2 separate regions of the Homo sapiens genome follow, and region 2 is linked to region 1. The links are contacts of gene promoters, found by promoter capture Hi-C in human tissues and cell types (Jung and others, 2019). All regions are on one chromosome and are shown on one strand. The core of a region is centred on a gene start or on the middle of the fragment in contact, and the rest is flanking DNA. Distances in the headings are between cores, read along the strand shown.

Region 1 (7,609 bases), core at 765-3,264:
AGCAGTGATGGGGAGGCGGGAAGCCCAGTGAGGGGGCTTTGTACACATCCAGGCAAGAGTGGCTGCAAGTATTGTGGCTGCTAAGTGGTTAAATGGTGCAACACATTTAGGAGAAGGGGATTAGCTGTGTCTTTAGCGTCAGCTAGTGTTTTAAATGCTAGTGCCCAAGATCTGGTTCTAATATTATATTAGATCCACCACTCAGAGCTGTGCAACTTCAGACCAGCCTCAGTTTCACCGTCTGTAAAAAGATGATTGATGGCACTGGCCTTACCATGTACCTCTGAGGGTTCCTAACAACGAGGCCTATTCAACATGTCTCTGGATGCCTGGTTCCAAAGATGTGGACCAATGCTAGTCGCATGTCCTGTAGCAGGAGGAGCCACGGACAAAACCCCTCAGACACTGGGTTAAGGAAGGATTTGGCTTTTTCGGCCGGGAGCTTCGGCAGACTCGCCTCTCAACTGGCGGGAGCTTCGGTAGACTCGCGTCTCAAGAACCGAGCTCCCGGCCGAATGCGACTAGCATTGGTTCACATCTTGATTCTTTTTTTTCTTTCTTTCTTTCTTTTTTTTTTTTTGAGACGGAGTCTTGCTCTGTCGTCCAGGCTGGAGTGCAGTGGTGCGATCGCGGCTCACTGCAACCTCCGCCTCCCGGGTTCAAGAGATTCTTCTGCCTCAGCCTCCCGAGTAGCTGGGACTACAGGCACGTACCACCACGCGCGGCTAATTTTTTTGCATTTTTAGTAGAGACAGGGTTTCACCGCGTTAGCCAGGATGGTCTTGTCTTGATCTCCTGACCTCGTGATCTGCCCGCCTCAGCCTCCCAAAGGGCTGGGATTACAGGCGTGAGCCACCGCGCCTGGCCATCTTGACTCTTTGGTCGACACAAAAGGCAGACTATTCTGGATTCAAATCCAAACTCAACCACTCCCCATGGCTGTGACCTTGAGAGTGTGGTTTTATGTCCTTGGGCCTCAGTTTCCTCAGCTGTCTAATGGGAATTGTACTCATGCTACCAGTCTCCTGTTATAGCAAGGATTTCCTGAGTTCATTCATAGAAAGCACTGGGAATGGTGCCTACTACATAGGAAGCGCCTCATAAACCGTGCCTATCCTTAGCCATCTCATTCTTTTTTCGAAGTTGCAAAATATTTCACTGTAAGATACTACCATAAAATAGAGGCAGTCTCTACTCGTGAACTTTTAGGGTTTTTTGTTGTTGTTTATTTGTAGGGGTTTTTTTGCACTTTTGTTTTTTTGAGACAGTCTCCCTCTGTTGCGCAGGCCGGAGTGCAGTGGCGCGATCTCTGCAACCTCCACCTCCCAGGTTCACGCCATTCTCCTGCCTCAGCCTCTCGCGTAGCTTGGGACTACGCACGCGCACCACCACACCCGGGGTAGAGACGAGGGTTTCACCATGTTGGGCAGGCTGGTCTCGAACTCCTGGCCTCAAGTGTTCCACCCACCTGGGCCTCCCAAAGTGCTGGCATTACAGGCATGAGCCACCGCGCCTGGCCATGAACATTTGGGTTTATTCATCCCCTCAAAAATATGTATTGAGCCCTGACCTGCCAAGCGCCACAGTGGGACTGTTGCAGTCAGGTACCCATTTCTCTACCCACGCATATAGGTGTACGGGTACCGATAGTCGCGTGAATTTAAAATGCTAATCTGTGGTGCCAGTGGCTCTCAAAAAGTAGAATCCACTAGCACACCCACCTCCCGGACTTGGCTGGAAACTTGCACATTTCGGATGGCAGGTTTGGGAACCGCTGCCTTTCAGGAAAGGTGCTGACGTGGGCCACTGCCGCTTCGCTGGGAAGCAATGGGCCCAGCTAGGCCCGGGGCGCGGCCACACCCCTGTGGGGGAGGGGAAGGAGGCCGCCCCGAAGGGAGTGGACAGCCCCCCTGTCAGTCTTCCAGAGTCTGGGAGTGTAAGATGAGACGGGGGAAGGTGGGCCTCATTCTGGCGGAGGGCGAGGAGGAACTTCCTGCCCGCGCGCTCCACGGTGCAGAGCTCTAAGCGCGCGGGCTGGCAGGCTGCGGCGCGTCAAGGTCAGCCTGGAGCTGGGTGGCGGCCTGCCTGGGGGCGGGGGACCCTACTGGAGGCCCGGGCTGGGGCCTCCCAGCGCCTCGGCCATATTGAATAGCTTCGACTGGACCGTCTTTGTCTGCGAAGTCCTGTCCCAAGTTCCAGCCGCGTCCCTGGGGCCTGGGGCAGGAAGAGTCGCTGGCAGCCCGCGCGCCCCAACTTGGAGCTGGGACACCACGTTTCCAGCTTGGAGTGGGCCTTGAGCCTTGGGACTGACCTCGCCCCCGGCTCACGTAGGCATCCTGGAAATTGATTCCCCCAAGTCCTTGGTGGGGGAGCCGGACTTGGTCAAGACTGTACTTGTTGCAGGCGAAGAGATTGGAGGCGTTTGGCTCGTCCCTGGCTAGGGAGGTGAGACTCTCCGGTCAGCGTTGCTGGAACTCCCCCCATCCAGTCCCTCCCTCAAGACTAAGGGCTACAGTAGTTTGTTGGGGCTCATTGCCCCCTCACCCCAGATATCACCCTGGAGATCTTAAAGACTCTCGAGAAAAGCCACGTGGGGGGCTGGTTCCCCTGGGGCTTCCTGCCGTCCCCCGACTGCCTCATTCTTTGGAGCGTCCCCGATGTCTGCAAAGATGTGGATTTGGACGTCCTCGTGGAAGCCCTAAAGCCCGTGGGGACATTTAAGAAGATCGGCAAGGTGTTCCGCAAGGAGGAGGACTCCACGGTGGGGATGCTGCAGATCGGGGAGGACGTCGACTATTTGCTCATCCCCCGGGAGGTCAGGCTGGCTGGGGGCGTCTGGAGAGTCATCTCTAAGCCCGCCACCAAGGAAGCAGAATTTCGGGAGCGGCTGACCCAGTTCCTGGAAGAAGAGGGCCGCACCCTGGAGGACGTGGCCCGCATCATGGAGAAGAGCACCCCGCACCCGCCCCAGCCCCCCAAAAAGCCCAAGGAGCCCCGAGTGAGGAGGAGAGTGCAGCAGATGGTGACTCCTCCGCCCCGGCTGGTCGTGGGCACGTACGACAGCAGCAACGCCAGCGACAGCGAGTTCAGCGACTTCGAGACCTCCAGAGACAAGAGCCGCCAGGGCCCGCGGCGGGGCAAGAAGGTGCGCAAAATGCCCGTCAGCTACCTGGGCAGCAAGTTCCTGGGAAGCGACCTGGAGAGTGAGGATGATGAGGAACTGGTCGAGGCCTTCCTCCGGCGACAGGAGAAGCAGCCCAGCGCGCCGCCTGCCCGCCGCCGCGTCAACCTGCCAGTGCCCATGTTTGAGGACAACCTGGGGCCTCAGCTGTCCAAAGCGGACAGGTGGCGGGAGTATGTCAGCCAGGTGTCCTGGGGGAAGCTGAAGCGGAGGGTGAAGGGTTGGGCGCCGAGGGCGGGCCCCGGGGTGGGCGAGGCCCGGCTGGCCTCCACCGCAGTGGAGAGCGCAGGGGTATCATCGGCGCCAGAGGGCACCAGCCCGGGGGATCGCTTGGGAAACGCGGGAGATGTTTGTGTGCCCCAGGCTTCCCCTAGGCGATGGAGGCCCAAGATCAACTGGGCCTCCTTTCGGCGCCGCAGGAAGGAGCAGACAGCACCCACAGGTCAGGGGGCAGACATCGAGGCTGATCAGGGGGGAGAGGCTGCAGATAGTCAAAGGGAAGAGGCCATAGCTGACCAGCGGGAAGGGGCTGCAGGTAATCAGAGGGCAGGGGCCCCAGCTGACCAGGGGGCAGAGGCTGCAGATAATCAGAGGGAAGAGGCTGCAGATAATCAGAGGGCAGGGGCCCCAGCTGAGGAGGGGGCAGAGGCTGCAGATAACCAGAGGGAAGAGGCTGCAGATAATCAGAGGGCAGAGGCCCCAGCTGACCAGAGGTCACAGGGCACAGATAACCACAGGGAAGAGGCTGCAGATAATCAGAGGGCGGAGGCCCCAGCTGACCAGGGGTCAGAGGTTACAGATAATCAAAGGGAAGAGGCCGTACATGACCAGAGGGAAAGGGCCCCAGCTGTCCAGGGTGCAGATAATCAGAGGGCACAGGCCCGGGCTGGCCAGAGGGCAGAGGCTGCACATAATCAGAGGGCAGGGGCCCCAGGTATCCAGGAAGCTGAAGTCTCAGCTGCCCAAGGGACCACAGGAACAGCTCCAGGAGCCAGGGCCCGGAAACAGGTCAAGACAGTGAGGTTCCAGACCCCTGGACGCTTTTCGTGGTTTTGCAAGCGCCGGAGAGCCTTCTGGCACACTCCCCGGTTGCCAACCCTGCCCAAGAGAGTCCCCAGGGCAGGAGAGGCCAGGAACCTCAGGGTGCTGAGGGCCGAGGCCAGAGCAGAAGCTGAGCAGGGAGAGCAAGAAGACCAGCTGTGAGGTGAGGGCTAGAGACAGCCCACGGGCCCTCCCTCCAAGTGTGGGAGGGAGAGATGCTCTGCCTCTGAACTTCAAAGTGGAGGTGGAGTGCTGGCCACGTCTCCACCTAACAACCCTCTTTATTCTCTTGTTAAAGTTTTGTTCATGCTTTGATTTTTTTTTAAATTTTTTAGAGACAGGGTCTCACTCTGTTGCCCAGGCTGGAGTGCAGTGGCATGATCATAACTCACTGCAGCCTCAAACTTCTGGCCTCAAGTGATCCTCCTGCCTCGGCCTCCCAAAATGCTGGGATTACAGATGTGAGCCACCACACACACCATCTGATTAAAAAAAAAAAATACTGATTCCTTGTAGCAACCCAAAAAATGTAAAGAAAGAATTCGACACAATGGGGTTGCGTCACCTATAGTTTTCATTTCCTCAAATGCAACTCAAGGTGCTCAGCTTGATAAAGGGAGAGAGGGAGGGCAGGGGAGAAACTGACTCCTTTTTCCATCTCTTTTTTGCCTGCACACTTAATGTGGACTGCCTCCTTGGACTTAAAAAGAGTTGAGCCAACATGCAAATCAAAAAACATTTATGAACTGATTTCTTAGCTTTGGACTTGACAACTGACGAATGCTCTGGGGGTGACCTGGCCCTTGCTGTCCGTTCCACTCCCATCCTTGATGATGGAGACACCTGTGTTTATGTTGTCACTTCGCTTGCCATCCTCATGCCCCGGGCTCTGCTGGTTTGGAGGGGACAGGGCCCTTGGTTTGCACACCTCACCCGATCTTGGTTATAAGGTACAGTAAAAGCGTCTGAAAAATGCATTCAAAACACAGATTCTGGGGCCCTCGGCACCAGAGGTGTGGATTTGCTAGCGGTGCCTGTGTGGCTCTGAATTCTGTTTGCATCAAGCTCCACGGACATCTGGGCAACTCGGCCACTGGACACATTGAAAAATCATTGCAATAGGAAAAGGCCCAAAAGAGGGGCTGTGGTTGGCCGGGCATGGTGGCTCACGCCTGTAATCCCAGCACTTAGGGAGGCCAAGGCGGGTGGATCACGAGGTCAAGAGATCGAGACCATCCTGGCCAACGTGGTGAAACCCCGTCTCTAATAAAAATACAAAAATTAGACTGGCCTTGTGGCGCACGCCTGTAGTCCCAGCTACTCTGGAGGCTGAGGCAAGAGAATCTCTTGAACCCAGGAGGTGGAGGTTGCAGTGAGCCGAGATTGTGCCATTGCACTCCAGCCTAGTGACACAGTGAGACTCTGTCTCAAAAAAAAAAAAAAAAAAAAAAAAAAAAAGAGGCTGTGTGTATTGTGCATTAATTGCTGCTGCATTTTTTTTTTTCTTTTTGGAGATGGAATCTCACTCTCTGTCTCCCAGGCTGGAGTGCAGTGGCACGATCTCGGCTCACTGCCATCTCCGCCTCCCTGGTTCAAGCGATTCTCCTCCCTCAGCCTCCCGAATAGCTGGGACTACAGGTGTGTGCCACCACACCTGGCTAATTTTTGTATTTTTAGTAGAGATGAGGTTTCACCATATTGGCCAAGCTTGTCTTGAACTCCTAACCTCAGCTGATCTGCCCACCTCTGCTTCCCAAAGTGCTGGGATTACAGGCATGAGCCACTGCACGCGGCCAACTGCTTCCTATAATTGGGAAGAAACTGGGTTGCTAAAGCCCTGTGGAGGTTAGGAGGAAGCTGGGGGCCTGTATTGCCTTGTGTCCCCACAACCCCTAGCAGTGAAAAACAGCAAATGACCACACTCTAGCCTTGCTGAGGGCAGGAGAAAAGAGAGTTCGTGGAGGTCCAAAGGCCAGTCTGTCTTCCTAACTGGTTGCAGGCCTGGCCTAAGTTTCTTATTTTTTTCCTCAGGAAAGTAAAGAATTCTATCCCACCACCCTCCTTTTGTTTTTCTCTCTTCCACCCTCCTCCCTCCTTCCCTCCCTCCCCTCCCCTTCCCTCCCTCCCCTCCCCTCTCCCTCTCTCCCTCCACTCCCCTCCCCTCTCCCTCTCTCCCTCCACTCCCCTCCCCTCTCCCTCTCTCCCTCCCCTCTCCCTCTCCCTCCCCTTCCCCCTCCCACCCTCCCTCCTTTCCTTCCTTCCTTCCTTCCCTCTTTCTTTCTTCCTCCCTCCCTCCCTCTCTCTTTCTCTCTCTCTCTTGCTTTCTTTCCTTTCTCTTTCTCTCTTTTCTTTACTCTTTTCTTTCTTTCAAGACAGGGTCTGGCTCTGTCACCCAGGCTGGAGTGTGGTGTTGCAATCACGGCTCACTTGCACTCTTGGGATCAAGCGATCCTCTGGCCTCAGCTCTGGGACTATGGGAGTGAGCCACCGCGCCCCACCCCTGCTCTTTTCTGAGTGGAGTGGTTACTGCTGGTGCTGCTTGCTGCCTGGCGCGCCGCATGGCCTTGCTAGAGCCGCTTTGTGCATGCTGGTGGATACTTGGCCGTGTAGTCCACGGCTCACAGCAAGAACGAGGCCCTGGGAGGTTTGGAAGAAATACAAGCTGTGGACCTCACCTGGAGGGGAGGCTTTGCAGGTGCGCGGAGGAAGACAGGCTGGGTGGGAAGGTTCTGGTTGGTGGGGAGGGAGGCTGTCCTTTGTCGCTGCCCACTTCGGAGGGCAGAGGTCTCGTGACCATGGGGACCTGGCCTGCCTGAGGAGCTGGAAGGTAAAAAGGAACAGCAGAGACAGATGTTTGGAGGGATTCGGAGACTGGAGGAGCCGACGGCATGAATGCAGGAAATGAAGGCTCAGAGCGAGTCTCTCTGCTCCTCCTCCCTGCAGCGCCCAGAGCTATGGGGGGGGGGGGGTCTCGGGGGAACATCAGGGGCCCATGAGAAGGAAAGTGGTGTGGACCCCAAACAAGTGGCAAGATGGAGTTAAACGAGGAGCTGCGTGGATTTCACAGACATCAGGCAACACTGGGTCAGTCTCTCTCACTGCCATACACGTGTGGACACACACATAGACACATGCACACTCGGATCCAGGCACGCAGGCACAGCACATACCACAGACACATGTACACTCAGGCACCACTGGCAGACCCACATTCACCAACAGAAATTATGATTAATCTGCCCATACATAGACACAGACACGGACACACACATGTAGTACACACACGTGTACTCACAGAGGCGCACAGACCCACTGTGCTCCGGGAAGCCAACCCCCACACATTCACAGACCCATTCATACAAACACTGACATACTTGGAAATGTCAA
Region 2 (7,669 bases), core at 3,441-5,940, 280 kb after region 1:
TTAGATAATTGTCAGCTAATAAACATTTACACAACTGTTACTGGAAAAGAGATACGGAGTCAGGAGTCAAAGGCAGTGGGATGTTTCCACTCAGGGCTGCAAGCCTGTCCAGGAAAGTCTTCCCTTTGAGGTGGAAATTAGTTCTAGATCTACACAGCCACAGAAGACTGGAATGGAGGTCAACTTGCTATTCCTCCAGCATGTTTCTTGCATCAGTGAGGTCCTACCTCCCTCACTGAAGGACCTCAGATCAAAGGTCTCACGAACTTGTGTCCTACTTCAGTGAGGTTCCTGTAGGAAGTGACTGAAACCTTTTATCTAACCCTCTTCTCTCCCCTACACTAAAGGGGATGGTTCGGATGGTTCAGAGCAGGGGTTCTGGCTCTCGGGGGAGATGCAAACAACTCTGACCATGAGTTAAACCCTGTAGTTAATGGATACCAAATAGAGAAATACAGACTCTAAGAAAACACAAAGCACTATCCCAGTTGGGAGGGCACAAAGGAGACATGATCATCAAAAGCAATGTGGGATTCTGGATTGGATCCTGGAGCAGGAAGTGGACATGAGGGGACAACTGATAAAATTAAAATAAAGCCTGTAGATTCATTAATAGTGTTAGTCAATATTCATTTCTTGCTTTCAATAATTGTATTAAGATCATTTAAGATGTTAACATTATGAGAATCTGTGTGAAAGAAAGAAACCAACTGTACAACTTTTTTGTAAGTTTAAAATTATTTCAAGATAGTAGTTAAGAAAATTTTGTAAATGATACCTACAGATATTATCAAGATAGTGACAGTGAATATTCATTAAAGAGATAATCAGGATGCCCAATGATGCTTCCTTGTGCCTAAAACTGCAATTACAGAGCTGCTCCTCTTCTCAGTATTATGCACCTAGGGCTCTCCTTGAGACAGAGAAGAGTCAGGGCTTGGCTTCATCTCACCCCTACTAGAGCAGGGGTCCCCAACCCACAGGCCATGGACTGGTACCAGTGTGTCTGCTTTTAGGAACTGGGCTGCATAGCAGGCAGTAAGCAGTGACTTAGTGGGTGGAGCTTCATCTGTATTTACAGCTGCTCCCCATCACTCACCTTATTGCCTAAGCATAGCCTCCTGTCAGATCAGTAGGAGCATTAGATTCTCATAAGAGCATGAACCCTATTGTGAACTGTGCATGTGAAGTATTTAGGTTGCACACTCCTTATCTAATCTAATACTCCTTATCTAATATGAGAATCTAATGTCTGATGATCTGTCACTGTCTCCTGTCACTCCCAGATGAGACCATCTAGCTGCAGAAGAACAAGCTCAGGGCTCCCACTGATTCTACAGTATGGTGAGTTGCATATGTAATATATAATGTATATTATTTCATTATATATTACAATGTAACAATAATAGACATAAAGTCCACAATTAATGTAATGTGCTTGAATCATCCTGAAACTATCCCCCTCCTCCTTTGTCCATGGAAAAACTGTCTTCCTTGGGAAACCAGTCCCTGGAGCCAAAAAGGTTAGGGACTGCTGTACTACAACATTCCTGCTGATCACAAAACCCACGCCACTACCTCATTGCTAATAGTCCTTTTACTTAAAGAATCCCAAGAACTGGTCTTAGGAGACAACCAAGATTCCAGAAAGAATGTTGAACAACTGATTCACAGCCTTGCTGCCACAGGCCAGACCACCAGGTGGTCTCTTCCTCAAGAAAACCATCCTAAGCAGATACTGCTGACCTGCATACCGTATACCTCTCCTGCTTTGCCCAGCCCAGCCTGCATACCCTACCCCTGATGTCAATTCCCACACTTTGCCTAATAAAAAAAGCCCTACCAGCTCTTTTCAGGGAGTCATCAGGGAATTCTTTCTCTTTTGTGCTGCCTCTCTTATTTCCAGGAATAATCTCCAATGAAGTTTTGTCTGGGAAAACTATTTTGACCTCATGTCAGTTTCTATTGCATTGAGAGCCCAAGAACCCAAGACCAGTAATGTATTATTTAGGGGCTTGCCTGGGATCATGGTGTAGAAAATAAAATAAGTAGAGGTTCCTCTTCAGAGGGACTTTCCTCCCAGTCTAATTGAGAATAGATAGTAACCTCTCTTAGAAGCAAAATTTACTCAAAGACCTGTGCTAATATTCTTAAATATCTGCTAGCCATAATAAAGAAATCAATATACTCTGCGTTCTTAGCTACCGCATTTTAGCCTAGATATTTGCCCTGGCATGCCTGAACAGGCCCAAGCAAGCATTAGGTCATAGCCTATTCCTCTTCCTTATTTGGAAGTGCTTTTGCCTCTCTCAGCATTCCACAAGTTACTTCCTGTCTTCCTTTGTTCTCCTCTGCCTTTGCCTCTTTGGGGAAGTTCTAAGTTGCTAGCCAATCAGGTCAAGTACAGAATGTGAGGTCCCATTCCAGCCAACGGAAGCCAGACACAGCAGTAGGGTGGCATATCAGGTTATAAATGACCCTGTCTCCTTTGTTCGTGTGTGCTCTCATGGCAAGACTGCTAGCAAGCGGCCCTCTTTCTGCAGAAAGTAAACTAGCCTTGCTGAGAGATCCTTTGTCTCAGTGTTGATTTTTGTGACACCGAGCACCCATTCCCAACAATGGGATGTGGGGAGCCTTTCTCTCCCTGAGGGGGAGACTTGTGAGCTGATGGGACTGCTGGACAAGATCCCTTCACGGCTGACAAGCAGCTGCCTGAACTTCTGATTCAGTGTCGCCAAGCTGGTTGAGTCTTTCTCCAGCCTGCCAGCCCTCCTTGCCTCCCCCATCCCTCCTGCAGGCAATGCTTTTCTCCCTTCCCTTCTTGCTTTCTCTCCTTTTCACTTCCTAACTTTTCTGTCACTTAGGGTGCCTTGTCTCTCCTCTCCTAATCCTTAGTGGTTTGGGTCACGTGAACAGATATCTGTGAGGGACAGGTTGAAATCGTTGACTACCTGGATCTGATCAACTCAGCAGGCAGTGGGACAGAGTGTACCTTTTCCCTGGCCTAAGTTGGTTTGGGTTCCAGTCCCAAGAAACAATTCTATCCATCCCTCCCTCCCTTTCTCCCTCCTTCCCTTTCTTCTTCTTTCCTCTCCCTCTCCCTCCCTTTCTCCCTCCTTCCCTTTCTTCTTCTTTCCTCTCCCTCTCCCTCCCTCTCTCCCTCTATCGTTTTCCCTCCCTCTTCCTCTCCTTCTCTCTCCCCTTCTCTGTCATACTGGCCCTCAATCCTGTAACTCTATTCAAAACCCCTCACCACTTCACTTTCTCTTTGCCACACCATGTGAGGAGGGGAAGCCTGTGGACTTTTCTGTCATCTGTCTGTTTGGGTGTGTGAGTCTATCAACTTTGGGTGCTGGCTTTTTAAGGAGAGAACTGACAGCACGTGGAACCAAAGTTTGTGTCACTTATGTCCCAATGAATTGTTTTCTTTCTGTGCATTTAATTCAATATCTTATTTTCCCATGCAACCCACTGGTTGGCCTCTTGTAAAAAGGAGAGACTTTTGCCTATGGTTCCATGAAATGGAAAGGGATCATTTTCTTTTGTAACGTGGCTTGGCCCCCACAGCTATGCCACAGGGAGCAAGGTCACCAAAGTTGCTCAGAAAAAGAGAACCCAAAACCGTAGCATGCCAGCAAAAGGGTAAGAATTTCTTACCAGCCAGGCTTCTGGACTTTCTCTGTGTGTGTGTGAAAACTGGTTAAGTGAATGACAAAATTCACTGTTTCCCTCCTCTGCAAGGCTTTAACCCATTTCCTGTTGGCCAAGAATATTCTTATCTTTAATACTAATGTAAAATCATATACATTTCTGCTACGTTAATACTAGAGACAAGTTCTGTTTAGAAACAACTCCAAGAACAGTTTTGTTTTTGTTGTTGTTGTTTGAGAGGGAGTCTCGCTCTGCTCCCCAGGCTGGAGTGCAGTAGCATAATATTGGCTCACTGCAACCTCCACCTCCTGGGTTCAAGCGACTCTCCCACTTCAGCCTCCCGAGTAGCTGAGACTACAAGCATAGGCCACCATGCCCGGCTAACTTTTGTATTTTTAGTAGAGACAGGGTTTCACCATATTAGCCAGGCTGGTCTTAAACTCCTGGCCTCAAGTGATCTGCCTGCTTCAGCCACCCAAAGTGCTGCGATTACAGGCATGAGCCAAGAAGGGGTTTTTATGTTTTATTTTCACACTGAAAATCAGTCATATTCGCTTCAGCCTCGAAGAGCATGTTTACGTAAAATTAAATGGGTGTTGACAGCAAACTAGACCTAATAAAAAAAGAAGTCGATAAACCTCTGAGACAGAAAGTATTAAAACATTAGAATGCTCATGCTTTCCAAAGCCAAACAATGTTTACAAAAAAATTTCATCTGAATTCCCATTTTTAAATTTTGCTATTTTTTAGGAGGAGGGTTTAGAAAATTACTTGGGAGCTCTTAAAGCTGACTGCACAAATATTGTCGAGTAAAGCTTAATGTAGTGTAATAAGGAGAGAAGTTTTTGTCTATTATTAAAATTTAAAACAAAGCTACTGTAAATGAACCAGACACTACCTAGAAAAATTACACATAAATCAATTGAACAGAGTCCATCAACAGATAAAGCTAATAATGGAAAACTGAGATATAAGAAAAGTAACATTGTACATTAGAAGAAAAGGGATGAAACTAGTCAACAAGTAATTTCAGATTCAATAGGACATTCATTAGCAAGAAAATTAACTTAGACTCAGCATCACATCTTATAGAAAAAGTTATATGTGAATAAAAATGACTAAAAAGAAAGTAAAAATATAGAACTATTCATAGAACTTTAAGTTGGAGATGGCCTCCTTACGTAAGCGGAAGCCAAAAAGTGGAAAGAAGATGTAGGGCAGTGGTAAAAGACACTGCTGCATAAAAATTTAAAATATCTCAAAAAAGAAGACTCCACCAGCATTACTGAGAAACAAACACAAAGGCGAGGAAAACATATAACAGACAAAAGGTTAGTATCTCCCATATAAAAAGAGCATTTATAAATTAATAAGAAGGAAGCAAACAACCCAAAACAATTATTCTGAATAGTGTATCATTTACAGAAAAGGAACTATACATCATTAAACATAAAAATAATGAGAAATACTGGGAACCTTCATCCAAGCTCATAAATTTCTTCTAATCTTAGTTCTTGCTCACTTTATTTTTTAATTTGGAACCTACCAAAGATAATAAATTCCTCTTTTTGCCACAGCTTAAGCTAGTTTAAACTGGCAAGCAACCACTTGCAAGTAACCAGTTTATAAACATAATGAAAAGGTGCTTCCAAGAACCTCAATAAACAGCATGTAGACAAACAAATGCCATATTTTAAATAACATGGTATGTTCTTTAACTCATCATCTGATGCTTGCTGGGGGAACTAAAATATTTATCAAAACTCTAAAGAAGTTATTGCCCTGTGAGATAATGAAAAAGGCTGTTTCATAGGAAACGTGTACTTCACCCACTTAGTTCAGGAGATCATACCCTGTAGTATTTGGTTTAAATAAACAGTGAACCTGAACCCTTGAAACTGCATGCAGTCCATCTCACATGCAATTACACCCACAGGCTCAAAATAAAGGGATGGAGGAAAATCTACCAAGCAAATGGAAAACAGAAAAAAGCAGGAGTTGCAATCCTAATCTCAGATGACTTTAAACCAACAAAGATAAAAAAAGACAAAGAAGGGTATTATGTAATAGTAAAGGGTTCAATTCAACAAGAAGGCCTAACTATCCTAAATACATATGCACCCAACACAAGAGCACCCAGATTCAGAGAGCAAGCTCTTTGAGACCTTCAAAGAGATCTAGACATCCATACAATAATAGTGGGAAACTTCAATACCTCACTGACAGTATTAGACAGATCATCAGGTCAGAAAATTAACAAAGATATTCAGGACCTGAACTCAGCACTGGATCAAATGGGCCTGATAGACATCTGCAGAACTCTCCACACAAAAGCAATAGAATATACATTCTTCTCACCACCACATGGCACACATTGAAAAATCGACCACATAATCAGACACGAAACACTCCTCAGCAAACACAAAAGAACCGAAATCATAACAACCACTCTCTCAGACCATAGCACAATCAAATTAGAAATCAAGACTAAGGAATTTGCTCAAAACCATACAATTACATGGAAATTGAATAACCTGCCCCTGAATGACTTTGGGGTAAATAATGAAATTGAGGCAGAAATCAAGAAGCTATTTGAAACCAATGAGAACAAAGATACAATATACCAGAATCTCTGGAACACAGCTAAGGCAGGAGTAAGAGGGAAATTTATAGTACTAATTGCCCACTTCAGAGAGTCAGAACTCAGCTTCACAACCTAACATCACAACTAAAAGAACTAGAGAACCCAGAGCAAACAAACCCCAAAGCCGGCAGAAGACAAGAAATAATCAAAATCAAAACTGAACTGAAGGAGACAGAGACACACACACACACACACACACACACACACACACACACACACACAAAAGATCAACAAATCCAAGAGTTGGTTTTTTGAAAAAAATTAATAAAATAGATAGAACACTAGCTAGATTAAAAAAGAAGAGGGAAGATCCGAATAAATACCATTAGAAATGTAAAGGGGGATATTATCACTAACCCCACAGAAATAATAACCATCAGAGAATATTATCAACACCTCTATGCACATAAACCAGAAAATCTACAAGAAACTGATATATTTTTGGACATATACACTCCCAAGATTGGACCAGGAAGAGATTCGGTCCCTGAATAGACCAATAACAAGTTCTGAAATTGAATCAGCAATAAATAGCCTACCAACCAAAAAATTTCCAAGACCAGATGGATTCACAGTTGAATTCTACCAGATGTACAAAGAAGAGCTGGTACCATTCCTACTGAAAGTATTCCAAAAAATTGAGAAGGAGGGACTCCTCCCTAACTTATTCTATGAGGCCAGCATCATCCTGATATCAAAACCTGGCAGACACACAACAAGAAAAGAAAGCTTCAGGCCAATATCCTTGATGAACATCAATGCAAAAAATCCTCAAGAAATCCCGGCAAACTGAATCCAGCAGCACATGAAAAGCTAATCCACCATGATCAAGCAGGCTTTATTCCTGGGATGCAAGGTTGGTTCAACATATGCAAATCAATAAATGTGATTCATTGCAGAAACAGAACTAAAGACAAAAACCACATAATTATCTCAGTAGATGCAGAAAAGGCTTTTGAGAAAAATTCAACACCTCTTCATGTTAAAAACTCTCAATAAACTAGGTATTGAAGAAATATACTTCAAAATAACAAGAGCCATCTGTGACAAACTCACAGCCAACATTATACAGAATGGGCAAAAGCTGGAAGAATTCACCTTGAAAACTGGTACAAGATAAGGATGCCCTCTTTCACTGCTCCTATTCAACATAGTATAGGAAGTCCTGGCCAGAGCAATCAAGCAAGAGAAAGAAATAAAGGGCATCTAAATAAAAAGAGAGTACATCAAACTATCCCTGTTTGCAGATGACATGATCCTGTATCTAGAAAACCCTACAGTCTCCACAAAAGCTCCTTCAGCTGATAAGCAACTTCAGCGAAGTTGCAGGATATAAAATCAATGTACAAATGTACATTTTTTGTACAATGTACA

Evidence for each region. Contacts are between HindIII fragments. The study calls those that stand out against the background at their distance.
Region 2: a contact is called between a fragment that was not itself captured here and the fragment with the promoter of CCDC8 in region 1, in 2 of the 25 tissues and cell types used here (small bowel and thymus).

What each region holds. Positions count from the first base shown.
Region 1 is chr19:46,407,969-46,415,577 of GRCh38, reverse strand. CCDC8 (coiled-coil domain containing 8 subunit of 3M complex) reads left to right here and starts at 2,014. Exons shown (of 1, transcript NM_032040.5): 1 at 2,014-5,249. The coding sequence starts at 2,768. The coding sequence ends at 4,384. RefSeq lists enhancers at 1-306, 307-1,140, 2,807-3,640, 6,374-6,898. The HindIII fragment of the contact is 10,715 bases long and covers 1-7,609 here.
Region 2 is chr19:46,128,156-46,135,824 of GRCh38, reverse strand. It overlaps a transcript of IGFL2 not described here. Among named protein-coding and RNA genes, the nearest start is that of IGFL3, 7.3 kb to the right of the region's middle. RefSeq lists enhancers at 523-1,353, 1,354-2,185, 2,186-3,017. The HindIII fragment of the contact is 6,419 bases long and covers 1,481-7,669 here.